Linked DNA regions of Homo sapiens: region 1 is linked to region 2. The links are contacts of gene promoters, found by promoter capture Hi-C in human tissues and cell types (Jung and others, 2019). All regions are on one chromosome and are shown on one strand. The core of a region is centred on a gene start or on the middle of the fragment in contact, and the rest is flanking DNA. Distances in the headings are between cores, read along the strand shown. Region 1 holds the start of TBATA (thymus, brain and testes associated). Region 2 holds the start of UNC5B (unc-5 netrin receptor B).

The links. The method cuts DNA at HindIII sites, captures the fragments that hold promoters and counts their contacts. A contact is called where the count stands out against the background at its distance.
Region 1: a contact is called between the fragment with the promoter of TBATA here and the fragment with the promoter of UNC5B in region 2, in 1 of the 25 tissues and cell types used here (mesenchymal stem cells).

What each region holds. Positions count from the first base shown.
Region 1 is chr10:70,782,918-70,788,703 of GRCh38, reverse strand. It overlaps TBATA (thymus, brain and testes associated), which reads left to right and starts at 3,327. Exons shown (of 11, transcript NM_001318241.2): 1 at 3,327-3,419; 2 at 3,931-4,057; 3 at 5,179-5,365. The coding sequence starts at 5,325. The HindIII fragment of the contact is 18,774 bases long and covers 1-5,786 here.
Region 2 is chr10:71,209,780-71,215,844 of GRCh38, reverse strand. UNC5B (unc-5 netrin receptor B) reads right to left here and starts at 3,275. Exons shown (of 17, transcript NM_170744.5): 1 at 2,781-3,275. The coding sequence starts at 2,859. RefSeq lists enhancers at 1-248, 3,219-3,513 and a silencer at 3,115-3,374. The HindIII fragment of the contact is 13,648 bases long and covers 1-6,065 here.

The sequences.
Region 1 (5,786 bases), core at 2,078-4,577, 430 kb after region 2:
GAAAAAAAGCATTTGATAAAATTCAACACACATTTATGACAAAAATGCTCAGAAAAATAGGAAGAGAGAGGGACTTCTTTAACCTGATAAAGAGTATATATAAAAAACCTACAGCTGACATTATATTTAATGGTTAAAGACTCTGTGTTTACTTCCTAAGATTAGGAACAAGGTAAGGATGTGCACTCTCACCACTGTTATTCAACTTAGTATTGGAAATTCTAGGCAGTGCAGTAAGACAAGAGAAGAGAAGAGAAGAGAAGAAAAAGCATATATATGGGAAAGAAAGAAAGAAAGAAAACTGTCCCTATTTGCAGATGATATTATTACCTATGTAGAAAATTCCAGGGAATCTACAACATATCTCCAGAAACTAATAAGTGAGTTCAGCAAGGTTGCAGGATACAAACTAACATACCAAATTAATAGTGTTTCTATATACTAGCAATGCATATATGGACACCAAAATTTAAAATACCATACCATTTACAGTTCCTTTAAAAACAAAAACTGAAATAGGTGAAAATCTAACAAAACATGTCCACGGCTTTTATGCTGAAAACTATAAAATGCTGATTAAAGTAATCAAAGAATATTTAAATAAATGGAGAGATATACTATGTTCATGGACTGGAAGACTCAACATGGTAAAGATGTCCATTCTCCCCAAATTGATACAGAAGTTTAACCTGATTCCTATAAAAATCTAAACAAAAATGTTTGTAGATATCAATAAGATTATTCTAAAATTTGTATGGAAAGGCAAAGGAACTAGAATATCCAAGACACTCTTAAAAAAACAAAGCTGGAAGTCTTATACCACTTATATAGACATCAAGATGTATTTAAAGTTACAGTAATTAAGAGAATATAGTGTTGGTGCATTGGTAGACAGAAAGTCCAGAGACAGACCCACACATATACGGATACTTGAATTTTGTTAAAGATGGTACTGCAGAGATAAGGACAATGTTTTAAGTAATGGTACTGGGTCGAATGGATATTTATATGGAAAAAATATATATAAATTTTGACCCCTATCTTACACCAAACACAAAAATCAATTCCGTATTGATTGTAGATCTAAACATGAACAGCAAAACAGTAAATCTTCAGAAAATAATAATGAGAATTATCTTCATAACCTTGGGTAGGCAAAAATCTCTTAAAACACAAAACCCACTAACCATTAAGGACAAAATTGATAAACTGGGTTATGTTAAAATTAGGAATTCTCTTTATCAAAAGACTGCATATAGACACAGACAAGCAAGACACAAAGGAGAGAATATATTTGCAACACAAATAACTAAAGATTTATCTGATCATTAATTTCTCCATCTATAGGATTACATGAGGTAATATATCTAAGAGGTTGGCACAGTGCCTGGCACATAGAAAGTGTTCCATGAAGTTTCTATTGCCTCTGTTATGACTGAGTCATCCAGGCCAAGGACTGTACCTCAAATCACTCTCAGGCTGACAGATCTCTCTACAGTTTTTGACACTCCACAAAGGAGTCAGAAGAGTTTCCTCAGTTCTTCTTTTACAAACCAGTGTTGAAGACATTTCCTGAGGAACCCCTTCATCCCCCCAGCTGCAGTCCCTATGCAGACCCCCATGCTCGATTGTAAATAACATAGTTGAAGCATTACAAGGCACCAGTGGGGAGGATGAGAGTGGGTTTTCATCTCAGCTGAGTCAGCTCGCGTGGTGGGAAATGCCACAAGAGTGCTGAAAGCAGGAGGGAGGAGTGGCTTGTCACGGGGAAGAAAGCCTCTCTTCTCCCAAATGCTATATCATCTATCTTCACAGCTGCCAGGATGCCCAGAAGTATGGAAGAGGGGGTTTTCAGTATGATTTCAAAAGAGTCACCGTATTCCTGCAGAGACAGGCCCAGAAAAAGCCAGGGAACATCCTGACCTGCCGAAGGATGGGTGGGCATTTGGAGTAGGCCAAGACCAGAGGACAGCCCTCAGGGGGCCACCAGAGTGGTATGAATCCCCACCCCTTAGCTGGGAGGGGCAGAACTTTTGAAGGACTTGGGTTTGCCTCTAGCTACCCACCTTCCTTTTCTTGCTCCCCAGAGAAAAGACACAGAGTCTGGAAGCCCCAGGGCACCAGTATGAAGCCAGGGGTGCTGAGAGCAAAGGCCCTGGGAAAAGCCCACCTCATCATTCTGAGGGACAGCACCCGGCACTGTCTGCAAGCCTTCCCATAGTTTACAGAGCCTGTCTGCACCCCTCCCGGGATCTGATTGAGTTACAGCCCTGTCGGCTAAGAACTATCCTTACCCCCATTTGACAGGTGTCCAAGTTGAGCCTCAGAGAAATAGTGAACTACCTAAGATAGTTCTCAGACAAAGGACTCATCCTACTACCTCCATCAAGTTACCAATAATAATGATGATTATTATCCTTTTTGAGCATCTCTTGTGTGCCAGACATACAACTAAAGGCTTCACTTCCATTAGCTTGTCTTCAGAACAACCACAGAAGTAGGTGAGGATATCCCATTTTATAGACCCAGAGAAGGCAATAATAGTAAGAAATTATACTTGGGGGCAGATACTGTTTGAAACGCTTTAATATATATCAACTCACTTAATATTCTCAAACATCCTGTGAGAATAAGTGCAGTATCATCATCTCCATTTTAGAGATATGGGAACTAAGGCTCAGAGAAGGCAGGTGCATTGTCTGAGGCCACACAACTAGGAAGTAGCAGAATAGGGACTCGAAGCAAGGATTCTTCCCACTATTTTGCATCTGTGGCAGTCCCGGTGACTTACCCAAGGTAACGTGTCTATGGGATGTTGAAATCTGATTAAAACACCTGTCCAAATGCAAGCCCAGAATCTTCCCACCCAGCTGTCATGCAGAGAGAGGGGCTGGGGTCCCTCTGGGTAATGCGGGCTGCCATCTTCTCTCCTTCCAAGACCCACCTCCCTGAGAATGGGTCCCCAGAACCAAGATGCATGGAAGCCGACCCCTGTGTGGTGGGGTCAGGCCAGGTGGGGCTGACGAAGCTGGGACGCAGCCCACCAACGTCCTCTGCCAGCGTTCCGCCTCCATCCGCTTCTCTCTGGCTAAAACCAGCCCCAGACTCTCCTTCTCTCCCTTGGCCCCCATTGAAAGTGTTGGATGGGAGGCAGCAGGGAAGTCAGGAGGGACAGAAGGTCCTTAGCCCTTGTCTACCCTTCCAGGAGGGGGAGATAGGCAGGGGATGTGGTAGAGGGGTGCTGGGCAGAGGTTCTGGAGTTGTGGGAACAGGGTAACCTAGCAACCACTGGGCTCAGTGTCACAAAGCAGGCAGACTTGCCCACAGAACCCACAGCCTTCCCCTCGATTTGTCCTCTTGCTCCTTCCTGCTAGGACAGCAGGGCTTCTCGTACACATGCTGTAGCGGGCACTGCCTTGGTGAGTCCAGGGACCTCTCGGGAGAGGAGATGGACCCTGGACAGCCCAGAAGGGCAGAGGTAGAAAGGGAAGTTTTGTGGCTGGATTGATGGGAGCCCTCAGACCCCTCTGCCTGGCTGGCTGGGGCCCCAGGGACAGAGAGCAGGGGCAGGGCAGGGCAGACTACACTGGGGTCCCACCTGTCCCGCTCTGGACAAGGCAGGCTTGGCCTACTAGAGTCCCTGTCAGCCTCTCTACAGCCGCTGTGGGTTATGACCCCCTGGTGGCTTATTAGATCAATTTAAATGGATCATATCTAACATTTAAGAAATAAAAACCAAAAATAGGGTAAAAATATCAGTGTGCATCATATGTAGTACGGATAAATATTGCTTCAGGATATTATTGTTTTAGTTTCACACACACACACAAACCCATATGTGAATTGGATCATGACATAAAGAATTTCTTACCGTCATCACAGCCAAACACATTTGCAAGTCTCTGTTCTAAAGAGTACTTTTTCCCATAGGCAGGAGGATTTGGGGCTTCCACATATCCTGTTCTCAAGATTGTAGCATCTCAGTACTCTAGAGCCCAGTACCTGACATCAAGGATGTCTGGAGCTTCCTTTTAAGGAAAGAAAAGATCAGCAAACTGTGAGTCAGACTGCCCGGGCTCTGGTTCCTTCTGTGTGACCTCAGCAAATCTCCCCTGCTTCCCTGATCTCAGACAACTCCAACCCATCCCACTACCTGATGAAGGCTGGCATTGGGAGATCTCTGGGGTCCCTTGCAGATTCTGTGACTCTGAGGGTTAATTCTCAGAATGCACTGATGTCCTGTCCCAACCCCATCCCTAGCACTTTGGCTAGATATATATATTCAGGTCCATAGATTTAATCATAATTCTTGGTTTTGACACCTATCATCTTTCATCTATGCCATTTAATTAGTTTATTTAATAATATAATAAACACAAGCAAATACACCACCCAAACCAAGAACAAGAACATCATCACTAACACATCTCCTTATATGCGCTTCTCCTGCACACTTCCCCTCCCCGCCTTCCCTCGGAAATAGCCACTATGTGAATTTCGTGCTTAGCATTTCCTTGTTTGATGCTGTTGTTGCTGTTTTATCGCATGTTCATGATCATTTTGCTTGCTTTTAAACTTTTATTTTTAGAAAGGATCTCAGGCTATGTGGTCCTCTGGAACTTGTGGTCCTCTGGAACACACATAAACTAAACCATTTATGAAAGAAAAATAATATGTTTTTAAACAACATTTATACTGTTTAGTAGTTATTTTATATTATCCACACATTATATATAGTGGATGACAACAATTGTATTGTTTCAAATGCATATATCTTGTTCTACTGCAGCCTATTTAATAGTAATTAATAAAAAGTAAATTGAGTTAATAAGATTGCATAAATATAACATCGCAAAACCAAGAATTGTTAAGTTTTCTCATACTGATTATAAGATTCATCCATGTTGTTACATGTAGCTGTGGCTCATTTATTTTCATAGCAATAAAGTATCCCATTGTCTGAATGCACCACAGCTTATTTATCCATTCTTCTGCCATCAGACATTTGGGTTGCCACCAGGTTTTTGCTATTTTGAACAGTGTTTGTATGAATATTCTTATAAGTAGCCCCTGTTGTACATCTATAAGAATTTCTCTTATATCTGGGAAAGAAATTGCTGGGTGATACAGCATGCAAATGCTCAATTTTAAAAGATATTACCATTTCTCCCCCTAAAGTGCCTGTTCCCGTTTACACTTCCACCACCAGTTCGTGAGAGTTCCTGTTCTGCATCCTCAACACTAGTATTAAGTGAGAGTTCCTGTTCTGCATCCTCAACGCTAGTATTAAGTGCACTGGCCTTTAGTCTGTTAAAAAGCATACAATGGCTACAGATGTTCAATTGGCTGATTATCCACTGATGAGGTGAGGCTCCAAATGCCCACCCTGCTGACTGAGGAGGGCTTGGGGTAGGGCAGGGTAGAAGACAAAGGTGGCCTTGGGGGATCTCAACAGATTAGGAGTCCAAGAGAGGTGGTTCTTACTGGACTTCTGCTGCCGGTCAGCCAGACCCCCCAATGGGTCCTCAGGCTCAAGTTAGCCCAGGTAGTGGGCTTTGCCCCTCCTGGGCAGGGAAAAGACTTGAGCGGGTGCCAGAAGCACTGAGCAAAGGAGTTCCAGGGGTTCTCAGGAGGTGACTTCCTCTGTTACTTGGGGGTAGAAGAGGACAGCTAACTGCAACTTTCAGAGAAGGTTTGCTTTATTTCTTTAAGCCCCAGATCCCTTAGAGGCGAATGGAGAATGGAACAGGAAACTCAGGGGCCAAGTCAGTGGAGTCCTCAGAGGG
Region 2 (6,065 bases), core at 2,026-4,525:
GCACACACACACACACACACACACACACACACACACACCAAGCAGAGACACTACAAAAACTCTGATTTTAATTGCACCTTAAAAAGAAGTATTATCTTGACACCTCGACTCCTTCTCAACCATCCCAGCCAGAGGCCATGGAAAGGCTCATTAAAAGCTCCAGGAAGGGCTGAAAGGTGGGGTGGGAGGAGATTTCCAGGGCCAACCAGAGCTTTTGAAGTGGCCTTTTCTGGCTAGTCACTTGCTGACATTACCTTCTAAGGGTCTGGGGTTTTATGGTTCCAGTTTTGATTTCTCCAGCATCAGACTTTACAGCTTAAAAATATTCTCAGTGCTGTAAAGGGAGCTCATTCCCATATTCACCAGGGATGGGGTGGGGTGGGGAAAAGGAGAGAGAGGTGCCTGCCACTTGAGGGGAGCTTGGACACCCCCAGTAAAGATCCCTCTTTGCAGAGAGAGCCTCGCCTGCCTCAGTCTGTTATGAGTCTCATGGCAGAGGGGTGGGTGGATAAGAATAGGAGGGAGGGTCTGCTGGGCTTGAATCAGTCTGGCTATTGGACAGGAGCCCTTCACATGTCTTCAATCTGTGGCCAAGTGAAGGCAAGATTTGGAGAAAGCCAACACTCTGGCCTTGATTTTCCCCATCAGTGAAATGGAGCTTGTGAAGGATCCAATGGAAAAACCCAAAGAACATTCTGAAAGAATGATGCTCTGTGCCTGTGGCATTAGAGAAAAACAAGATTGTGTGGGAGGAAGGGACATGTTCTCCCTCCTGAAGGCAGGTTTCTAAGGGCCACACATTCTGGGCAATGAGAAGGCTGCAGGCCGACCCCACCAGTTGGCCCCTCTCCAGGCTGGTGGGCAGGCAGCTACTGCCGCACTAAGTAATGAGCACAATTCCAACACCGCTTCTGCTCGCTGGTGAGAAATCAAAGCCGGGTATTAGAGGCCATTTCTGACTGGGCACCATTCGTGCCCAAATCCATCAAAGCCCTGGGCCTGGGGTTTCTTCTGGGGAAGGTGGGGGCTGGATGCTTTGTTAAGCAGGAAATGCAGGCCACCCCCAGCCTTCTTGGCCAAGCCCACCCACCCAGAGAACTATAGGCCAACCAGTCTTGTCTTTCTCCTACAGCAGCCCCTCATTCCTGGTAACCTAAGTATTTATTCCTGATCCCACTGTCCTGCTGGTACAAAAGCAGCTTCCCAAGACACAACCCTGCCCATGTGCCATTTACAGAGACTTCACCCTACCCTTCAATCATCTCCTCAAACCCCCTCCAACCAGAAACCAGCACCCCAACCAAGCACCTCCCACGTCTAACTGCACCCTTTAAAACAAGGTTGGACATTCAGCAGCCTGCCTTCCCCATCCCCATCATTACCTTCCAACTTCAAAACACTGCTTTAAATACCAGAGTCTGCCCAAATCATAATTAACTTGGATCAAATGGTTGAGTGTTGTAACTCTACTGCACAGGACTTGCACCAGAAAAAAAAAAAAAAGTGGGGAATGTGCTAAAGCCAAGCCCTCACTCCTGGCCGTGGGAATCACTAATTCCAGAATGAGGAATCTTTGGCTATGGAGGGGGGAAGGGCGGATGTCAACTTCGCAGCAGGAGGTAGGAGGTGGGGAGGGCTGCGTCATCTCGTCCACTTTCTGCTCCAGTTTTCCTGCTCCATTCTCAGCCTCAACTCAGAGAGGACTCCGTGCAGGAGGCCCCGTCCCCACCTGGCTCCGGAGCCGAGCCGCCCGGCAGCCGTGGCCAGCCCACTTGCTTGGGTTCGGGTACCAGAGAGAGGCTGGCTCCATTCAGTCCACAGCCTCCCCGAGAAGACGCAGCCCAGCCAGCGACGCCGGGTCCAGCTACAGGACGAGCGAGAAACGTATTCATCCACGGCGAGAGAGGAGGGTTAGGGACTTTATTTCGGAGCCCACCAGTTCGCTGAAGTCATCTTGGTGGGTCCAGAGCGGGCGCTGTACCAAGGAGAGCGCACCTAGTCTGTTCCCCGGACAGCGAGAATGTCAGTGACCAATTTAAAAGGAAACTCCGCAGGATCGCTAAGAACCCCTACCCGCATCCAACACACACACACACACACACACACACACACACACTCTCCAACACTCAGAAAATTAATAATAATAATAATAATAATAATAATAATAATTCTTCCAGACCTGCGGGCCCAGCGATCTCGGGGAAAGCTATGTGTGCAAGACTTAGCCCTCCCCGCTTCAGGAGCCCTGCAAGCCGGCCTGCCGAGGCTACCGAAGCGCTTCCTGTGTTCAGCAGGTCTTTTCGCTCTCTCCCTCTAGTCTGCAGATTGCTGTCCCTATAGCGCGTAAGAGCCTAGGCGAGCCGGGACCAGACTAGTAAGTTACCGGCGTACGGCAGCGAGCGCACACCTTGCTTATGTAGCCAATGTTCTTTTTCGGGGCGGATGCCAGGCGCGCGGAGAGCCGGGCGTCCCCAGGAGGCGGATCCTCCCGGAGACTCAGACCCTGACTCCTACACCCCTTCCAGGGAGAAGAAGGGATCCCTTTCAGGAGCGAGCAGGGACCTTTCAGCTTACTGTGAAGCCCCTTCCCTGCTCCCCGCTCCCGCGATGTGGATGCGCCATTGCCCACTTTGGGAGGCAGTAAAATCTACATTCTAACTTGGGCGCCCTTGCCGCTTTTCCTGCGCGCATCGATGCGACGAAAGACCACCTCAACTTCAGGACAGAGTGAGGCGCAAGGGTCCCCTAGCCCCGCGCCCCCAGACCCGATCGCTTCCTACCTGCTTGGCTCAGCCTCGGGTCCCAGCAGAGCAGCAGTGCCAGCAGCAGCGCGCCCCGAGCTCCGCTCCGGGCCCCCATGCTCCCGCGGCCTGGTTCGGGCGCCTCTCCCCCAGGGCTGTCTCCCTGGCCCCAGTCTCGCCGCCGCCGTCTCCGCCGCCGCCGCCTCCTCCTCGCCGTCCTCCCCGGCGCCCGGCAGCGCCAGCCCGTGCCTTCCGTGGGGGCAGCGGAAGCCACGCTGCGCGGAGGGCCGCCTGGCACTCGGAGCGCGGTGGGTGCCTGGCGCCGGCTCTCGAACGAGGCTCCGGCGCGCCCCTCTGGCTCCGGGTCTCTGAGCGCTCGCCTGGCTCCGGCGCTGTGCCTCCGAAGTTGCGCGACCGCTCAGTGGCGCTCGCAGCGGCGGCGCCGCGCAGTCCCAGCCCCAGTGCGCGCCTCTCGGAGCCCCGCGGCTGCGTGCGGCTCCGGCGCCCTAGCCGGCCCCAGCCGCCTGCCACAATGCCGAGCGCCGCCGCTCGCTCGCCGGAGTGAGTTCGCCAACCGAGGGGACCGCGCGCGGCCGGGGCGGGGCCTGGGCGACCGAGGGCGGAGCCGACAGGGGGACCTTGAGGGGGGATCCGACGGCCATCTGGGCGCGGCCGCGGCAGAGCTGGGGGACCCGGGGGGAGGGTCCTCGCGAGACGCTGGGCGCAGCGTTTTGAAAAACCCGGCCGCTGGAGAATGGCTGGACGTGGAGGCGGCCCAATTTTCGCTCCCCCAAATTAAGGAAATCTGGCTTTGCGCCTTCATTTGGCTTGGCCATGTCAGCTTTCTCCTCTGATTAAACATAGGACTCTCACTTTTGGCTCCCCTGTCTGTAGTATGCGCTCTGCCTTCCACATGTGGGGGTCTTTCCAAAAAAAAGGCTCCCAAAATGAGAACACCCAAGTCCTGGTTACGCGGGGGCTTACAGCGATATGAAGCTGGGTATAGATTAGGATCATCCTGGCTGGCTCTGCTTGTCTGTATGATCTCCGGCAGAACTGTTAACCAGACCCCTGGAAACCCCTCCAGCACTCTGATCCTGCGTTGTTGTAAACTAGCCTCCTACCTGACAGTGGGACAGCCATTTTTGGCTCAGTGTAAACTTGGACTCTGCCCCTTATTTACTGTGTGACCTTGAACAAGTTACTTAACAATTCTATTGCTCCCTTCATCATCATCTGTAAAATGGAGGAAAAGGATAACTATTTCATAAGGGGGTATAGAATTAAATTTTAAAACTTGTGTGGAAATTGCAGTGCAAGTGTCAATAATCTCTTTCCAAGATTCTCCCCTCCCAGCCAGTCTGATTCCAGGGGGAAAGTCCTGACCACCCAAAGGTGGTCCAAGGAGCACGTGGGGACAGGTGAGGTTTGAAGGATGGGCAGTGTCTTGGGATTGAAACCCAGAGAGATCAGAACGAGCGGATCAGCTAACATAGGCAAAGACCTTCCCTGTGCCAGGCACAGGGCTAAGCACTCTGTATGCATCATGTCAGTTAATTCTCACAACCCTCTGAAGTAAGCACCATTTACATCCCATTTTACAGATGAAGGACCTGAGGCACAGAGGTGTAAAGCCACCTGCCGGAGATCACACTGCTTGGAGTGACTGAGTGACTGAGCAAAGGGGATGGGGGAGATGGGATTGGAAAGAAACCCTCTAAACGGGGGAGCCTCACTTGAACACCTTCCCTGGGGCTGGATTGGGCTGTGCGAAGGGGACTGTCCTAGCTGTTTCCCCAGAGGTGAGGTGAAGGCAGGACTAGTACCCTCTCCACACACACTCCCCTCACAAGCCGGGGTCTTGGAGTATCTAGGGGAGGTCGTGCATGCCATCAGCACATCTCCCTAACCCTCTCTGACTGGGCACCCAGCATCAGGAGGGTGGCAACAGGTGGACTGGGACTCCCTGGGGGAAGAACTTCCATCAATTGAGAAAGGCTGCTGTGGGCAAAGGTAGGTTGCTTAGCTTGGCCTCTGACAGCCCTAGCAAGGGCAGTGGATGAGACAGTCAACAGCTCAGCACACCCAAACCAACTCCACCTTGCAAATACACATGCACACACACAACTACCCACCCATACACACCTGCAAAGGTACACACACGAAAACATACAACAAAGACAACAGGTGCAATGTTTCACCTCCCATAAACATCACACCTACAAATAGGCACCCGACTCCAGAGACACCCACATACCAAAGATGTATGCCTAAAAAAAGCAAACACACAGGCGCACACAACTAAAAACACAAATAGGCAGATGACTCCCAAGACAAATAGATATTTGGATACTTAACTACTGCCAGGAAACACATACAGGCACGCCTGTGCCAAGACCCACATCTGACGGTCATCCCCTGGATGCAGGCACATGGTCAAGGTTGTGCCTGTGCTGGAGAGCTCAGCAGGGACCTCAGCAGAGACGGGCAGCATGCAGAGACCACAGCATGTTCTCTCTCTCTCCCCAACCTCTTTCTCTCTCTCCTTCAGGCCAGTGGGGTATTGGAGATTTTTCTAAAAAGTTCCACCCCTTGGAACTTTGCTGTTTAGGTGGTAAAGTGTACCCAGCAGGCCCTTCTAGTCCAAGTATCAGGTTTCACGGCTTTAATTCCTGGGTGGAGAGAAGGGGGACTGGAGATGGGGGCAAGCAAAAGGAAGACATTACCCCCTCTCCTGCCAGTCCCTGCCCCACTTCCCTTCTCAGCCTAACCACTCTCTCAACTCTTGAAATATACTCTTGGGAGGTCCCGGGCCCTGCTCTCCCTCCAGGACTCCAGCATCAGGGCATGGGATTTTGCATGTTGGGAATCTCTCTGTAACTGCTCTGTGCCCCTGCTCCTGTACCAAGTCTCTGAGCCTTCTCTAGCCACCTGCAGCTGAGCAGTTGCAGATGTGGTTCCTCTCCAGCCCTGGCATCTCAAGAGTGCAGGCTGTCAGTTGAGGCCAGGCAAGGGGCTTCAGAGGGAGTCAGACTCCCCCTGAGCCATACCTTTCCCCGGGATGGGTGAAGAATGGGCAGGGTCCCTGCCTGGGGGATGACACATTAGGATAGCAGGATTAAGATTTGCCAGGGTGTTCCCAAACCGAGTGCCATGGGCCTCACAGCAAAGGCATCCTGCTGGGAGTTAAGCATGAGGACGAAGCAGTGAGTTGCTTGAAGTCAGGTGCCCTGTGTTCCCTGTTCCCCATGATATATCTAGCACTGAAGACAGTTTCTGGCATAGCAGGGATGCAATCAACCTTGGTTGAGTGGGTACATCAAT